Linked DNA regions of Homo sapiens: all the other regions are linked to region 2. Evidence: promoter capture Hi-C in human tissues and cell types (Jung and others, 2019). All regions are on one chromosome and are shown on one strand. The core of a region is centred on a gene start or on the middle of the fragment in contact, and the rest is flanking DNA. Distances in the headings are between cores, read along the strand shown. Region 1 overlaps MGA (MAX dimerization protein MGA). Region 2 holds the start of SPTBN5 (spectrin beta, non-erythrocytic 5). Region 3 overlaps MGA (MAX dimerization protein MGA).

What was found. The method cuts DNA at HindIII sites, captures the fragments that hold promoters and counts their contacts. A contact is called where the count stands out against the background at its distance.
Region 1: a contact is called between a fragment that was not itself captured here and the fragment with the promoter of SPTBN5 in region 2, in 4 of the 25 tissues and cell types used here (H1 embryonic stem cells, dorsolateral prefrontal cortex, mesendoderm cells and 1 more).
Region 3: a fragment that was not itself captured here is called in contact with the fragment with the promoter of SPTBN5 in region 2 in 3 of the 25 tissues and cell types used here (bladder, dorsolateral prefrontal cortex and spleen).

The regions. Positions count from the first base shown.
Region 1 is chr15:41,733,263-41,736,557 of GRCh38, reverse strand. It overlaps MGA (MAX dimerization protein MGA), which reads right to left. Exons shown (of 24, transcript NM_001400225.1): 12 at 1,964-2,036; 13 at 1-377. Among named protein-coding and RNA genes, the nearest start is that of MAPKBP1, 40 kb to the left of the region's middle. The HindIII fragment of the contact is 3,107 bases long and covers 299-3,295 here.
Region 2 is chr15:41,892,772-41,896,180 of GRCh38, reverse strand. SPTBN5 (spectrin beta, non-erythrocytic 5) reads left to right here and starts at 2,128. Exons shown (of 68, transcript NM_016642.4): 1 at 2,128-2,282; 2 at 2,635-2,899; 3 at 3,120-3,287. The coding sequence starts at 2,684. LOC105370792 (a long non-coding RNA gene) reads right to left here and starts at 3,404. Exons shown (of 4, transcript NR_135681.1): 1 at 3,103-3,404; 2 at 845-954; 3 at 1-601. It overlaps EHD4 (EH domain containing 4), which reads left to right. Exons shown (of 6, transcript NM_139265.4): 6 at 1-248. RefSeq lists an enhancer at 3,284-3,343. The HindIII fragment of the contact is 14,752 bases long and covers 1-3,409 here.
Region 3 is chr15:41,749,309-41,752,758 of GRCh38, reverse strand. It overlaps MGA (MAX dimerization protein MGA), which reads right to left. Exons shown (of 24, transcript NM_001400225.1): 17 at 2,144-3,450. Among named protein-coding and RNA genes, the nearest start is that of MAPKBP1, 23 kb to the left of the region's middle. The HindIII fragment of the contact is 7,681 bases long and covers 1-3,450 here.

The DNA of each region.
Region 1 (3,295 bases), core at 603-3,102, 160 kb after region 2:
AGGAGAGATATCCTCCATTTTCCCAGGGGACAATGGACCATCAGGAGTCTCTGATCCAGATTTCTCAGCCATATCATCTTGGTCTTGACATGATGGCATAGAGATTTTCACACGAGAAGAATAAACAGGAGGGTTCTTCTCACCCCGGCTCTTTCGCTGAGAAGCCAACTCAATGATGAAGCTGCCCACCTTAAGTGATTGTGGCATGTTGCTATTGATGTGCTGGGATAAGATGCTCAAAATCTTGTTCCGATCTTCCTCCCAGTTGCAGTCTGAGATGATCTCAATCAGTTTGGTGGGACCACCAGGTGACCTCTGATGCATATAAGAAGTAGAAGAGGATTCTCCTTCATTGCAGGAAGACTTCCAGCTCTTTTCTGATGTAAAATAATAATAAAAAAGAAAAAGTTGAAAGATTATTTCTGCATCACAGCATTTTGTATGAAACTCTGAAAAAAAACTGTCACATTCTCACGTTCTTTCACAGTAGTAACTTAAAATGTATCAACTTTCACAATTTGGGAGTTTTCCAGGAAGAAAAAGTTCCAGAGAATAAGACTACAATAGTCCTCATTATCCTGCTGACTGGGCTCTAACAGGTAGTTCCCTTAACACTACTCTAAATGCCACAATTATTACATTAGAGTTAGCTTGCAAACAAACCATGACCTACAACCAAGGTTAAGCTTCACTGGTATAGGTTACTATTTTGCTATACATACAGGCAAAGTGAAACTACTTGCTAGATGCTTTGAAACATGTACAGATTAGAGTCAATCCAAAAGAACAGCAAGAAAAATAGTATTCTGATTTTTTTTTTTTTTTGAGACGGAGTCTAGCTCTGTCGCCAGGCTGGAGTGCAGAGGCGTGATAGCTCACTGCAACCTCTGCCTCCCAGGTTCAAGTGGTTCTCCTGCCTCAGCCTCCCGAGTAGCTGAGATTATGGACGCGTGCCACCACGCCCAGTTAATTTTTGTATTTTTACTAGAGACGGGGTTTCACCATGTTGGCCAGGATGGTCTTGGATCTCTTGACCTCATGATCCACCCGCCTCGGCCTCCCAAAGTGCTGGGATTACAGGCGTGAGCCACTGCGCCCAGCTGTAGTATTCTGATTTTAAGTGCACTCTAACTCTAATTTCTACTGCAAATACCTCTGAATTACTTCTGTGCTTCTAGATATGATTGCTCCATTTCTACACTGTTTGCAGATCACTCAACTACCCAAAGTATTCTTTCCATGGCAACATGTTGACTAGACATGTATTTCACTAGACTCCTGGATTTCTTTAGCACAGCTTCCCAATGAGTGTACTGGTATGTCAAGGGCCCCCATAATCCTCAGGGTGCTCACGCTCTCAGGCAGGTTCCCTCCACCCTAGTAGCCTCCTCCACTTACCGCAATGTGCTATAGAAACATTGTTAATTATTTGTATGTACCATGACGTTTTTTAAGAAGTTAGGAAGCCCTGCTGCTTAAGTGTCAGAAGTCTCGGGAAGCATAACCAAAAACAAATTGGTAACCACCTGACCACTACCTGTCATCAAAGTAATTCTGACAGTAGCCTCTGCCAGCTAAATCACAGTAATATTCCTTCCTTTCTCCTTCTAGATTTCCCCAGAGGTGGCAGTGATGGAGGACCAAAGGCTAATGATGCCAATATTACTGGGGTTTGGAAAGAGGTTAAAAAAAAAAAAACTCACTGACCTCAACCTAAATGTCTCTTGCAACAACATGCTTTATCAACATGAATGAATTTTCTTTTATTTTTGAGAGCAGGAGTGTTAACAGACCAAATAATGGGGAAAAAAAACTTTTACTTATTGTCCCTGTTTTTGGCATAAGTTTGAAACAGGGTAGGCAGACATATTCTGAATTGATGGTTTGGGTTTTCTCCCATTATTACTATAATCTAGACCTAAATAATTTTTATCAAATGTTAAGATCTAGTTTTCATTCTGACCTTGTAATTTATCAGAATCATCCTCCAAGTCACAGGTGAGTTGTTTTAAGGGCTGCTGTTCAGAATCAGGTTCCTGAAGGAGACAGTAACACAGAAATACTTTAACTTAACATATATTCAATACCCACAGAAACTTGGACACAAGCATTAAATCTCTCACAGAAGTTTAAATCATTAGAATGACTGAAATGTCAACAGCTTCAATCCACATGCACATCTACGTTACTATCATATAAAACCCTGGGTAAAAACACATAGTTTTGCTACCTAATGTCCTTGATAGTGACTGAGTCATCAAGAAAAAAATTCACATTGTACTTTAAAGAGGGAAACATATTTACTGTTAAATGAAACAAACTACAGTTATTCAGAAAATTCACCAGTTGAGGCCAGTCTCGGTGGCTCATGCCTGCAATCCCAGCATTCCGAGAGGCCGAGGTGGGAAGATCACTTGAGCCCAGGAGTTCAAACCAGCCTGGCCAACAAGGCAAAACCCCATCTATACCAAAAATACAAAAGCTTAGCCACAAATGGTGGCACACACCTATAGTCCCAGTTGGTTGGGAGGCTGAGACAGAAGGATCGCTTGAGCTGAAGGTTGCAGTGAGCCGAGACCATGCCACTGCACTTCAGCCTGGGTGACAGAGTGAGGCCCTATCTCGAAAAAAAAAAGAAAGAAACAAAATTTGCCAATGTGGAAAGATGCACACCCTAATAATTACAGACAAATTAATAAAACTAGAATTTTTAAAATTACTCCAGGATCAGAAAGAATAATACTTTTTAATTTATCAAATCCTCTATTAACAGGCATTCTGCCTCCAATTTCTCATTAGTAAGGGCAATAGTGCACTGAACAGCTATATATATGCGTATGTTTGAGTAAACATACATACATGCACATATCTTTGTGCCCTCATGCTATGTACACTTACAATTTAGGGTCAAAAAGATATGCACATTTAAATTTTTTTGTTTTTGTCATTAACAAATTGCTGTTTAAAAGAAAACTGCTGATTTATACCTTTAGTGGTTTTCCGGGGAGTCACCACTGATGTTGAGGTGGCAGTACAAGCGAAGGTGGAGCCCCCAGCCATCAGCTGAACCATGGAAAGGGAAGAGGTGTAGCCTAACTACAAGGGTAACTGGAATCAGAACTTATTATTTAAATTATCTGTGAATGTGTGCCTCAGTTTCTCATATAATCCTCCATGGGTTGGACAGACTGCCACCTAGACTCTTTTATCATTCCACTTTCACTAATCAGGAGAGACTGCCCTCTTTCCTTAGTTCCAATTTTTTTTTTAAGTGAAAGCAAGTTAAGAAAGTAGA
Region 2 (3,409 bases), core at 879-3,378:
CCTCACCTGAAGTCCTTCCTATTCCTACTAGATATTTTTTTCCACTGTGTGGGCCAATGCATTCCCTTTATACTGTGTAAGCCAGGCATGGTGGCTCACACCTATAATCCCAGCAATGCAGGAGGCTGAAGTGGGAAGATCGTTGAGGCCAGGAGTTCAAGACCAGCCTGGGCAACCTAAGAAGACCCTGTCTCTAAAAAAGAATTAAATATAAATAAATAAATAATAAAAATATAATGTTTAAACCAGTTTCACTTGAGATTTTAGTTACTTGCAACATAAATAATCCAAACTTTGTTCCGACCCACAGGGTTCTCATTTCACCAGGGGCTGCAATCAGTCGTGGCCAAACAGGAGCCAGTCCTTGCATTGTATGCAGTGGCTTTAGCTGCCGTTGAGCTAGAAAGGAAGAAAAGCAGTCCACAGCCCCCGCCAACAGCTTCAAAATGCCAATCCCTGTTGAGGTCTATGTGCGAAGCACCACGCAGTTCAGTCTGTCCTCCCCGCTCACAACATCACACAGGACTCCACGGGCCGAGCAGTTCAGTCTGTCCTCCCACGCTCACAACATCACACAGGACTCCATGGGCTGAGGGTCTTACTAGGAGAAGGAACAAGCTCAGTCTCCCTGGGGTAAGCGGGTGGGATGAGGGACTTCCTAGAAGAAACAGGATTTTAACTGGGGCAGGCAGGATAGGTGAATGTGGATGATGGAGAATGGGAAAGGACGTTCAAAGCTGAAAGAGCAGCTGAAGCCCAGCCTTGGGGCAGGAGAGCTCTGGTCCTGCTCAGGAAATGGTGAGTGGCCCATGGAGAGCACCCAGAGTGAGGGGGGCAGACTAGCCTGGTTAGGTAAGCTGGCAGGCTTCCAAGGCCTGGCTGAGGCAAGGTCTGGCAAGTCTGGATTTTCCTTCCCAGGCTGTGGGAGGCTTCACAGGCACGAGCAGAGCTGCACTGTGGAAAGGTGCGGGGTGGTGGTGTCCAGGATGCCGAGTTAGGGGGTCCGTGATGAGGACCCCCAGGGGCAGTGAGGGCAGAAGGGGGGGTGCACGGGAGGACCGCCACAGCAACTGCTGCGAGCAAGGGAGGGACGCAGGGTGTCTGGAAGCCAGCCGCTGCAGAAGGGGCCTGGCAGGGAGAGGACAGCAGGAGAGGAAGCGTCTCTCAGACGCAGGAAGCCGCACCCCACCCGAGACCACGGCACCTCTCAGCGTCACCCCTGACTGCCTGCAGTGGGCCCAGGCGGTTCAAGTGTGACTCATCCCTAGCCCAGCTCTCAAGGGCGCGCTGAGCGGCTGTCCTGCTGTGGGCTGTGGCTGCCAGGAGCGCCTCCCTGAGGAGCGGGCTGTCGCTTCAGAGGCTCCAGGGCCGCTGGAAGACACCCACACACACACACCCCAGCCCACACTGCTACCCTGAGTTTAGCCAGAGGCGGGTGAGACCCCCAGAATTAGAACTCGCCTTCACTCTGGCATGTAGTCCACGGCTGCTCGGGGAGGAAGGGATGGGCGCCCACCAGCTCCCTCTGCACCCCTGCCTCCGAGCCCCGGGCCACGGCCAGCTCTGTGGAGCCCAGAGTTAACACCGTGTCTCTAATTTTGGAGGAGACTCCACAGCCCTCGCAGTTCCAGGTCACCCCTTCCTCCAGGGAGCCTACCCTTCAGCCCCGGGCTAGGCAGGCTGCACTCTGGCAGGGCCTGGAAAGCCAAGCCCAGGGTCTGTGAGGCCCTCAGTCTATGGGCTGTTCCCTGGGGGTGAATGAGAAGACCACGGCCCAGGACGCTCCCTCATCCCCTCGCCCTGGGTGCTCACAGAGAGGCCCCAAGAGGGTACAGAGGGCAGTCTCAGATTGGGAAGTGCGTCCACAGGCTTCCCACAGAGGCTCTGCCCTTTGGTACCTCCTACGCAGACTGCAGCACCCCATGCGGTGGCAGGGCCGCTCCATGGGCCTCTGCGTCCTGGGAGCCAGGACCCCCACCTGGAGTTGGAGAAGTTGCTGGCGGGGAAGGGAGGATGATGAAGGAGGACATCATCTGGCAATGGCCCTGGAGCATTCCTGAACCACCCCCTCCCTGTCTGGGCCACGCCCTGTGGCAGGTGGGAGGACAATGCCGCCTGTGTGCCGTCACCCCAGCACGCTGGCTCAAGGGGAGGGCTGTGGTGCAGCCCTGCTCCAGCCTTGGCCTCTCCTGATGTCCCTCTCCCTCCCTCCACAGCCCCTGCTATCTGCCATCTCCATCCGTCCAGCTGGGCCGCCTCTGTGGAACCCAGGCATCACCAAGGTAAGCAGCCCCTGCTATCTACCATCTCCATCCGTCCAGCAGAGCCGTCTCTGTGGGACCCAGGCATCACCAAGGTAAGCAGTTTCCTGTCTTCCTTCCACCTGTCCCAGTCACTGTGGTGGAGGGACCTGGCAGCAGGGGCTCTGAGAAGAAGAATCTGGAAGGTGGGGTGGGGCAAAGGGGGCCCTGGGCCATTCAAGCACAGGGGACCAGAAGCACTGGCCCTTACCTGGCTGGGCTCCAAGCTGCAACCCCCATGAAATGTGAGGACAGTCTGGCAAGGCGGGACCCCAGGCCCCTGGTAGAGGGGCCATCTCCATTCACATCATCCCCTAATCTGCATGCCCTCCAGGTTTAGGGAGCCATCCAGCAGCTCCTCATCCCCAAAGTCTGCAGGGCTGATGGCTGGTCAGCCCCACAGTCCCCGGGAGCTCCTCGGGGCTGCAGGGCACCGCAGCAGGAGGCCCAGCACAGAACTCCGGGTCCCGCCCAGTCCAAGTCTCACCATGGACTCTCAGTACGAGACGGGCCACATTCGCAAGCTACAGGCCCGGCACATGCAGATGCAGGAGAAGACTTTCACCAAGTGGATCAATAACGTCTTCCAGTGCGGCCAGGTGAGTATAGCCAGCTGTGACCCACAGCCCACCCATACCAGGCCCCCAGCTCTGGCCAGTGGGCCTCCGGGGTGAGCTGTGGGGTCATCTGCCTGAGGCCAAGCTGAGGCCAGAGCTCCTTCTTCCAAAGCAGCTGCTCTGGGTCGTACCTCTCAGGTCCCAGGATGGGAGGACAGGTGAGGCTGGGCTGACCCCATACTTACCCCTGTCCCCTCCCCAGGCGGGCATCAAGATCCGGAACCTGTACACAGAGCTGGCTGACGGCATCCACCTCCTGCGGCTGCTGGAGCTCATCTCAGGGGAGGCCCTGCCACCCCCGAGCCGGGGCCGCCTGCGTGTGCACTTCCTGGAGAACAGCAGCCGAGCTCTGGCCTTCCTCAGGGCCAAGGTGGGCCCCAGGGAAAGGGGTCTGGGATGGTGCTGGGGCAGGCAGCTGGGACAGGCTGAACTACTGGGTCACCTTTCCTGCGCCAGGCCACTGGGCAGAACAGAGGAGCTGGGGCCTGAGTA
Region 3 (3,450 bases), core at 360-2,859, 140 kb after region 2:
TGGTGAAACCCTGTCTTTACTAAAAAAATACAAAAATTAGCTGGGCATGGTGGTGCCCACCTGTAATCCCAAGCTACTCGGGAGGCTGAGGCAGAAGAATCGCTTGAACCGAGAAGGCAGAGGATGCAGTGAGCCGAGATGGCACCACTGCACTCCAGCCTGGGCGACAAAGCGAGACTCTGTTAAAAAAAAAAAAAAAAAAAAAAAAACTTTAAAGGTTCTATTATGTAAGTTCCACTAATAGTAATAGTTTTCACTGGTTTTAAAGTTGAACTGTTTTTTGGTCTCATGTTAACTTGGGCTGACTTACAGTGTGAGACTGCAAAAAACACAAAAAAATCAGCAATATAACTCCTAAAGTCAATGAATTTACATCCATTCTTGAAAAAGATTAGGCTATGGAGAGAAGGTATAAGTCAAATGAATACAGAATCATCCAATTTTAGAGCAAGATCCTCCTTTATAAATGAGACAATGGAGGTACTCAAATAACCAATATAAGAACATTAAGACCAGCCTGGCCAAGATGGTGAAACCCCATCTCTACGTAAATACAAAAATTAGCTGGGGCGGTGGCAGGCTCCTGTAATCTCAGCTACTCAGGAGGCTGAAGCAGGAGAATTGCTTGAGCCCCAGAGGTGGAGGTTGCAGTGAGCTGAGTTCGCACCACTGCACTCCAGCCTGGGCGACAGAGTAAGACTCCATCGCTAAAATAAAATATTTCAACATTTTAGATTTTTAAAACAGTAATCTTTTTGTCTTATTTTATGTGCATAAAGCAGTTAAGCAATAACAGAAAAGGACCAGATAACACAGAGGCAGAATGAATCTCAAGGAAGTGAGATTGTAAAACAAGCAGTTGTATGACAATCAGTGCAGACGGCTGTCATCTGCTCCTGAAAAGAAGGACACAGTTTAGATTTTAGGGCACTCCACAGGCAGCTGGTTATGATCTCCCCATGTTTTACATCAGACCTTATGTCAGGGGTCAGCAAACCACAGCCCACTAACAACTTCTTTTTTTTTTTTAACCCGAGACAGAGTTTTGTTCTTGTCGCCCAGGCTGGAGTGCAATGGCGCGATCTGGGCTCACTGCAACCTCAGCCTCCCGGGTTCAAGCGATTCTCCTGCCTCAGCGTTCTGAGTACTGGGATTACAGGCACCCATCACCACACCTGGCTAATTTTTTGTATTTTTAGTAGACACGGGGTTTTGTCATGTTGGCCAGACTAGTCTCAAACTCCTGACGTCAGGTGATCCACCCACCTCGGCCTCCCAAAGTGCTGGGATTATGGGTGTGAGCCACCGCACCTGGACTTTTTTACTAAAGTTTTAATGGAATACAGCTGCTTTTATACTACAACAGCAGTCAATTAGTCGCAACAGAGAGCCATCTAGCTCTCTGCAAAGTCTAAAACTATTTACTATCTGGCCTTTTACAGAAAACGTTTGTACAACTCCTGCACTGTATCAATACCTGACAGTTACTTATTTAAGTAAATACAACAACCCTAAATAGGAATCCTATAAAAAAAACTTCAGGAAAATAATAAAAATAGGCCATAAAGGTCATATTACAAAGGACGAAGACCAAAGTCTAGAATATAAATTCCAGAGACTAAATATTTAATTTTTGGATATAAAAGCAACTCAAGGCAAAATGGTACTAGAATATGATGGTATTTTCCAGTTTTTCTCCAAAAACAAAAACATCTCTCTATATGCAAGTGAATAAGTTCTCCTCTAGTTCTAAGGTCACCCATTCCCAGTTTCTGATTAACATCTACCAGAGAAGCTACAACCACCTCACATAGAAAACGTCATAGAAATTGACTGAGGTCAAATGGGAGTAGTGGTTTCGGGATTTTAAAAATCTAACTCGGTAGGGACTCTCAAGCACCTATCCCCCAAATATTTAAGCCAGCCTTCCCATAAAACCAGACAAGTCTCAAAGAATAAAAGCTCAATAAATGATGCTTGATTGACACAGCCTAAAGAACTACTAAGCCATTTAAGTCATAATCTTAAACCTAGGCATCCAATTAAATGTATTATGCCTTAGTGCTCTTCTGAAAAAGCTTCTGTCTTTAATAAATCATTTAAATCCTTTAGGTTTCAGTCACAACAAAAATGGGCTCACCACCTTTTCTACATCATCAACCTCCTCACTCTGGTAGTCAGAAACAACATCCACAATTTCATCAATAGAATCATCAGTTTTCTCATTATCATCTTCATCATCTTCTTCCAAATCCAAAACAGTGAAGTCAGCACTGCTTCTCCCACCCTTCTTCTCTTGCTTTGGTTGTATCTGTTCTCCAGGTAGCAGTAAGTGACCCTGAAAATGTCCATTCCCTCTGCTGCTTTTTGCAGCTCTCCTAGGAACAATGGAGAAGGCTGAAGGATTAGAAATCCTACTCCAAGAATCACATTCAGTTTTCAAAACTCTGGCATCTTCAGTAATTCCACTTTTTCCAAGTAAGTCAGAGATGCCTTGTTCTTGCTGAAACACATCTGAATTTTCCTGACATGTCTTTGTTTCTTTAATTAACTGCTCGTCTGCCTCTTTCTTACATTCCTGTGAAGCTCCAACACATTTCCTGGTTAAGGGGCCCTTCAGATGTTTTCTCCATCTTTCCCTGTCTTTCTCCAGAGAGTCTCCACATTCCTTCTCTTTGGCCTCTGGCTGTAGATTAGATTGCTGCTCCATAACTTTGCTTCCTGACAATTCAAATTTACTTTCTTCCTTAAAGGTGACTGGAAATTCACTTGAGTTTTCTTCTGGATTGTCAAATCCTTTCTGCTGTTCCACCTTCACATCACCAAGTTTTTGATGCTGTACTTTACTTAAATTTTGGACTGTCTTATTACTGGCTTTTTCAGAAATGGTCCTAACTTCCAGAACAGCCACTTTTTCTTTGGAACTCTTACGATTCCTAGCCCCATATTCTTCATTAACATCTTTATAATCTTGATCTGTATGTGACCCAGTGATACAGGAATGCTCAGATGGTTTGACAGTTGCACAACCTTCTTCTGGAAGGCATTCTTCATCCAAATGATCACCCCTATCTTCCAAGGAATCATTCAGAGTTTCTTCTGAGGTAGCAGCTCCTGAGTTTTGTTTTATTACATTAGCCTCAGGGTCTACAGCCTCTCCTTCTGACTGTAGAACCTTCTTCGTTTCTTGCTCTCTTTTTATTGAGTTTGTTTCATCTTTCTGGTCTGGATTCTGAGATTCTCTCTTCATCTGAAGGGAAGCAACATGCTGAAGAATGGAGCTAGGAACAGGCTTTTGTCCTGGGAGCTGTAACAAGGCAAAACTACCAGACTGGAGAGGAATAAGACTGGCTGTACCAACAGGCTGTCCTCCTGAGCTATAAGTTATTTTGGTTTCAGAGCCTGTTTTACTTGCAAAGCTTTGTGGTTCAGGAGGAGAAATCCTCAGGG